2 separate regions of the Homo sapiens genome follow, and region 1 is linked to region 2. Evidence: promoter capture Hi-C in 16 types of primary human blood cells and fetal thymus (Javierre and others, 2016). All regions are on one chromosome and are shown on one strand. Each heading gives the region's core, a stretch centred on a gene start or on the middle of the fragment in contact. The rest is flanking DNA. Distances are from core to core; before and after follow the strand shown. Region 1 has its middle 12 kb from the start of VPS13D. Region 2 holds the start of PLOD1 (procollagen-lysine,2-oxoglutarate 5-dioxygenase 1).

Region 1 (3,353 bases), core at 221-2,720, 280 kb after region 2:
AAGGAGCGACTGGCCAGTTCCGGCATTCATTCCCTCTGGTCCTCGCACTCACTTGCTTACATGCTTTCTTTCACGAGGAGTGGCCAGCGGCAGGCTGAATGAAATGAGCCACTCCAATTCCTGCCTATGAAGGGGGCTAAGGGAACGATCCCAACTCATCAGGAGACTGGAGGATGGGAAGAAAGTGAGGCCAGGTGTGTATTCCCTACTCCCCTTCCCCTTCTGGTAGATTCTCCCTGCCACCACCACTGTGGCCCCATAGCTTCCCGCTAGTGCCTCTCCTTGTGGGTTCTTCTAATGCTTGCCTCTCCTTGGCAAAAGCGTTTTCCTTCAACTTGCCTGTGCCCTGTGTTTCCTGCACAGAGGCCATTGCAGCCCCAGCAGCTCTGGTGTTCACTCATGGTGTCATTGCTGTGGATGTTCACGTTTACTGAACATCCACTCTGCAGAGGCTGGGGCTGCACTGAGCTTGAGTCCCCATCTATATATACAATGGGGATAGTAACAGCACCAACCTGGTTGGGATGTCAATGTATGAAACATGAGCTGAGCCAGTGTGTGGATCATGGAAACTGGAATAAACCCCCTTTGAGAGCAGGGAATTGACTTGGTGCTGGGGGAGGAGGGCAGCTTTGGCTCCTTCCTCTCATAGGCATTGGACATCGGCTGGTGCTGAGCCCGAGGGACCAGATCCAGCGCTGCTGTTTCCCAGAGCTCACCACCTATCTGGAGACAGAGGAGGCACCAGATGATTCTGTTTGAGGGGGTCCATTTGGAGCAACCAGGGGCAGCCACCTGCCTGATACAGCAACCAGTCAGCATGGGCCAGGCTTGCAGCTTCTCTTGCCCATTTCTTTAATCAGGACAGAACATGTGGTTTGGCGGAGCTAGGACCAGCCTGGGTAGAGAAGGAATGTCTTTTTGAGTTCTCTTTATTGTTCTCATTCATTCATTATCATTATAGATGAACAAGCACAGAACCCAAAATTGTGGGTCCAGCCTGGCGCGGTGGCTCAAGCCTGTAATCCCAGCACTGTGGGAGGCTGAGGTGGGAGAATTGCTTGAGCCCAGGAAGTTGAGGCTGCAATAAACCGTGATCAAGTCGAGGCTGCAGTGAACCGTGATCGAGTCACTGTACTCCAGCCTGGGTGGCAGAGTGAGACCCTGTCTTTTTTTTTTTTTTTTTGAGACGGAGTCTTGCTCTGTCACCCAGGCTGGAGTGCAGTGGCCTGATCTCAGCTCACTGCAAGCTCCGCCTCCCAGGTTCACGCCATTCTCCTGCCTCAGCCTCCCAAATAGCTGGGACCACAGGCGCACGCCACCACGCCCGGTTAACTTTTTTGTATTTTTAGTAGAGATGGGGTTTCACCGTGTTAGCCAGGATGGTCTCGATCTCCTGACCTCGTGATCCGCCCACCTCGGCCTCCCAAAGTGCTGGGATTACAGGCATGAGCCACCACGCCCAGCCCCGAGACACTGTCTTAAAGAAGAAAAGTTGTAGGTCCTGGAAGCCTACCTGCCCAGGTGTGAATCCTGGATGCAACACTTCCTGTTGCTGTGACCTCAATCAAGTGAATGAATATCTCTGATGTCTCTGTGCCTTACTCGCCTTATCTGTAAGATGGGATTAAAATCGTACCTCCCTCAGATTGTGGGATTACATCAGTTACTGTCTGAAATGCTTAGAACTGTGCCTGGCACATTGTCAGGGCTCCATACATGTTAATTGCTTTTTTTTTTTAATGTATAGGTGCTGAGAATGCTGCAGATAACAGCACAGGCAAGGTCCCTGTCCACCTGGAGCTGACACACTAGCAGGGACTATGTAAAGACAGACATGTAGGCTATGCCTGTAGTGGTAAGTGCTAAGAAAAATAAAGCAAAGTGAAGGGACAGATAGGGTTGCTGCCAGTTTGCAAGGTGGGTTGAGGAAGGCTTCTCTGAGGTGCTGGAGTTTAAGCAGACACCTTGGTGAGGGGAGGACAGGACAGCCATGGGACTATGGGGGGTGGGATGGGATATGGGGTTGGGAGAGTGGTGTGAAGCCATGGAAAGGACTTTGGCTTTTTTTTTTTTTTTTTTTTTTAGACAGAGTCTTGCTCTGTCTCCTAGGCTGGAGTACAGTGGTGTGATCTTGGCTCACTGCAACCCGGGTTCAAGTGATTCTCCTGCCTCAGGCTCCCAGGCAGCTGGGATTACAGTTGTCTGCCATCATACCTGGCTAATTTTTGTATTTTTAATAGAGACAGGGTTTTGCCATGTTGGCCAGGCCAGTCTTGAACTCCTGACTTCAGGTGATCCGCCTGCCTCAGCCTCCCAAAGTGCTGGGATTACAGGTGGGAGCCACCATGCTGGGCCGTTAGGTTTTATCTTCAGTGTCATGGGAGGGGCCTGAGCTGGGGAGTGTGGGAAGTTCCATAGCATTGTCTGAGCTAATGCTGAGAAAGCAGACTGGGTATGGTGGCTCACACCTGTAATCCCAGCACTTTGGGAGGCCCAAGGTGGGAGGATGGCTTGAGGCCAGGAGCTTAATACCATCCTGGGCAACATAGGGAGACCTCGTCTCTACCAAAAAATTAGCTAGATTGCTTGAGCTGTGATGGTGCCACTGCACTCCAGCCTGGGTGACAGAGCGAGACCCTGTCCCCAAAAAACCCCAAAATACCACAGTTGAGAAAGTGAGGTTGCATCATTTCAACTCGGTAACTGTCCTGCGAGATAGGCAAGGTACTCATTATCCCTGCTTTGCAGAGGAGGACATAGGGCTGGCAGGGCTGGGTTTGACACTTATCTTAGGATTGTGTTGGACAGGCTGTTTACTGTGGGAAGTTCCTGATAAGCAGCTCCTTAGAATTTCACAAGAAAGTCAAGGAAACCTGGATTTAAAGGGGTAGACATCTTTCTGGGGAAACTAGCAGCACCCTGAAAGCTAGGAGGTTGGGCTGAGCAGCTGCTTTGGGTGAATCTAAAGGCTGGGAATCCTAAGAGTGACTGTGCCTTGGTTCCACCACTATTTTGCCATGTGAACTTTGAGCAGCCTCTGTCCCCCTCTGGAGCTCAGAATCACCATCTGTGAGATGAGGGGGCTGGCCTCTGAGCTGTGGTCTATTTGCCTTTTCTCTCTCTTTCTCTTTTTTTTTTTTTTTTTTTGAGACAGAGTCTCACTCTGTCACCCAGGCTGGAGTGCAGTGGTGCAATCTCAGTTCACTGCAACCTCCACCTCCCGGGTTCAAGTGATTCTCCTGCCTCAGCCTCCCGAGTAGCTGGGACTACAGGCACCAGTCACCATGCCTGGCTAATTTTTTGTATTTTTAGTAGAGACAGGGTTTCAACATGTTGGCCAGGATGATCTC
Region 2 (3,337 bases), core at 327-2,826:
CTGTCGCCTAGGCTGGAGTGCAGTGGTTCAATCTTGGCTCACTGCAAACTCAGTCTCCTGGGTTCAAGTGATTCTACTGCCTCAGCCTCCTGAGTAGCTGGGATTACAGGCGCGCGCCACCACGCCTGGCTAATTTTTGTATTTTAGTAGAGACAGAGTTTCACCATGTTGGTCAAGCTGGTCTTGAACTCCTGACCTTGTGATCCGCTCGCCTCAGCCTCCCAAAGTGCTGGGATTACAGGTGTGAGCCACCGTGCCCGGCCTCTGTCTGAGGTTTCTTCCAAGGAAGGAAGGATTTTTGTTCAGAGGTGGCTGCCCCTGTCTGACATCTGGTCCAGGAGCCCTTACTCTAGAGACCGTTGAGTTGTTTGTTGGGCTTTGGGTATCTGTGAAGAGGCCCTAAAAACTTTCATCGATTCGTTTACTCATTTAACAATTAATCTCTCTAGGGTGTGGTGGCTCAGCCTGTAATCCCAGCACTTTGGGAGGCCAAGGCGGGTGGATCATCTGAGGGTGGGAGTTCAAGACCAGCCTGACCAACATGGAGAAACCCCACCTCTACTAAAAATACAAAATTAGCTGGGCATGGTGGCACATGCCTGTAATCCCAGCTACTCGGGAGGCTGAGGCAGGAGAATTGCTTGAACCCGGGAGGCGGAGGTTGCCGTGACCCCAGATCTCGCCGTTGCACTCCAGCCTGGGCAACAAGAGTGAAACTCTGTCTCAAAAAAAAGGTAGAAAAATTAGCCAGGGATGGTGGCTCAGGCCTGTGATCCCACCTACTTGGGAGGCTGAGATGGGAGGATCGCTTGAGCCCGGGAGGTCGAGGCTGCAGCAAGCGGTGATCACGCCACTGCACTCCAGCCTGGGCAACTGAAAGCAACCTTGTCTCAAAAAAATGAAAAAAAAAAAACAAAAAACAAAAAAACCTCAGAAGCAAGACTTTCCTTGGCTCAGAGGTTTGCCTCCCAGGGACACAAAGGGAGATCAAGTGATTGCCTTTTGGGGAGAGTGGAGACGGGCTTCCTGCATTTCCAGTGCCTGGGTGGGCCACGTAGGGGTGTCCGTGTCTCTGAACGCATCCGTGCCCACCCTCACCCCTTGGGTTTTGGGAAGGACTAATGAAATCATGAAAACTGACTTCCTTGGGGCTTGACCTGGGGCTGCTCTAAGTGCGCTACAGGTAACGCCATTAACCCGTGCAAGACCCAATGAACAGACGCTATCATAAGCCCCACTTTTCAGGCGAGCAAACAGGGGCTCGTGGCTATCGATGCCATGGAGCCTTGGCCCAGAACCTGGGGTCTAGAAATCGTGGCCTCTCTCTCCTCTCACCGCCCTCTTTCTGGTCGGAGTGAACCCCCCAGAGAAGGGAGGGAGACGGCAGGGCCTGACGGAAGCCCCGGGAGCTGCACAGAGAGGCGGAGGGAGCTGCCCTAATAAGGAGAGGCCCGGACTTGGGCATATCTGCAGAAAAACCCTTCCCCACTAGGCAGGCGCGGGGGAGGGCGTGGAGGGGCGGGGTGGTGCCGCCCCCGGGGCGGGCCCAGTGCGTGGCAGCGGGACCTGCGGCCCCGTCGCGAAGTTTCCAGCCCTGCGAGCGCCGCCGGGTCGGCCGATCGTCCCCCATACCTCGGCCATGCGGCCCCTGCTGCTACTGGCCCTGCTGGGCTGGCTGCTGCTGGCCGAAGCGAAGGGCGACGCCAAGCCGGAGGGTGAGGGAGCGAAGGCCGGGGGCGGGAGCGCGGATCCGGGCGGGAGGGCTGGTGTCGGGCTGCCTCCCTGGGAACGACCTGAATGGGAGGCCTGGGCTGGAGAGGGAGTCTGGGTTCCGGCTCCTTGTCCACTTAATCGCTGGTGACTTGAACAAATCACTTCCCCTCTTGGGGCTGCGGTTCCTGCTTCGGGAAGGAAAGGGTGACAGCTGAGTCCCATTCAGCACAGAAAGGCTCAAATAATAATAGTTTTCATAATAATAACCGACAATGGCTATTCTGCCCAGTGCTCACTATGGGCCAGGCATCAGTTAGGCATGATTGCTACCCTGGTAAGTGTTTCCTTCTATTATCCCCGTTTTCCAGCTGGGCAAACTGAGGCTCCAGAGTTCATTCACTTGCCCAAGATCATACAACTTGTGGGCCTTGGAACCAGGATTTACCCCACCCACCCAGGTGTCTGGTTCCAGAGCCAGGAGGCCTCATGACCATGGGAATGAGGGGTCTTGAGGGGGACAGGGGAGGAATGGGGGTAGAAGGTGTGGCTCACTTTGTGGATAAGTTTGTGCTTTCATCCATGTCCCCTGTGGTCTGCTTAGCCCCTGCCAGGGTGGTCTTCCTCTCTGCAGTTTATTTTTTTTATTTTACTTAATGTATTATTTATTTAGTTATTTATTTATTTTTGAGACAGAGTCTTGCTCTGTCGCCCAGGCTGGAACGCAGTATGCGATCTCGGCTTACTGCAACCTCTGCCTCCCAGGTAAAAGCAATTCTTTTTTTTTTTTTTGAGATGGAGTCTCGCTCTGTCGCCCAGGCTGGAATGCAGTGGCACAATCTCAGCTCACTGCAACCTCCACCTCCCAGGTTCAAGTGTTTCTCCTGCCTCGGCCTCCCAAGTAGCTGGGATTACAGGCACGTGCCACCATGCCTAGCTAATTTTTGTATTTTTAGTTGAGATGGGGTTTCACCATGCTGGCCAGGCTGGTCTTGAACTTCTGACCTCTTGATCCGCTGGCCTCAGCCTCCCAAAATGTTTGGATTACAGGCGTGAGCCATCGCGCCCGGCCGGTTCAAGCGACTCCTGTACCTCAGCCTCCCAGGTAGGTGGGATCACAGACATGTGCCACCATGCCCAGCTAATTTTTGTATTTTTGGTGGAGATGGGGTTTCACCATGTTGGCCAGGCTGGTCTTGAACTCTTGACCTCAGGTGATCAGCCCACCTTGGTCTCCCAAAGTGTTGGGATTACAGGCGTGAGCCACCACACCTGGCCCTCTCTGCAGTTTATACTTGAGGAAACTGAGGCCCAGACAGGTGAAGTGACTGTCCAGGGTGGTCCAGACAGAGGTGGTTGGTCCGAGGTCAGCTGGGCTCCAGTCTAGCGCTCTTTCTACTTCCTCAAGGCAGATTGGATTGCAGTGTGTGCCCCACTGTCCTGAGTGGGTGCTTCCCTCCTCCCCAGCCCTCCCTGGCATGGGCCATCTCCAGGGCTGTCCCGAGAAGGGCATAGACTGCGGACAGTCCCAGCAAAGCCAAGCAGAAGTGGCGGTACTTTCCATGGCATTCTCCTCCTTCAGCTTACCCTCCTGGAGAACCTGAAACTGTATCACCAGAAGGATCCC

What was found. Contacts are between HindIII fragments. The CHiCAGO score rates a contact against its expected background, and 5 or more counts as called.
Region 1: a fragment that was not itself captured here is called in contact with the fragment with the promoter of PLOD1 in region 2 in 1 of 17 cell types (neutrophils); the score reaches 7.2 in neutrophils.

The regions. Positions count from the first base shown.
Region 1 is chr1:12,215,944-12,219,296 of GRCh38, forward strand. No RefSeq gene overlaps it. Among named protein-coding and RNA genes, the nearest start is that of VPS13D, 12 kb to the right of the region's middle. The HindIII fragment of the contact is 5,126 bases long and covers 1-3,353 here.
Region 2 is chr1:11,933,141-11,936,477 of GRCh38, forward strand. PLOD1 (procollagen-lysine,2-oxoglutarate 5-dioxygenase 1) reads left to right here and starts at 1,577. Exons shown (of 19, transcript NM_000302.4): 1 at 1,577-1,715. The coding sequence starts at 1,640. RefSeq lists enhancers at 360-1,285, 1,116-1,165, 1,286-2,209 and a silencer at 1,386-1,855. The HindIII fragment of the contact is 16,832 bases long and covers 1-3,337 here.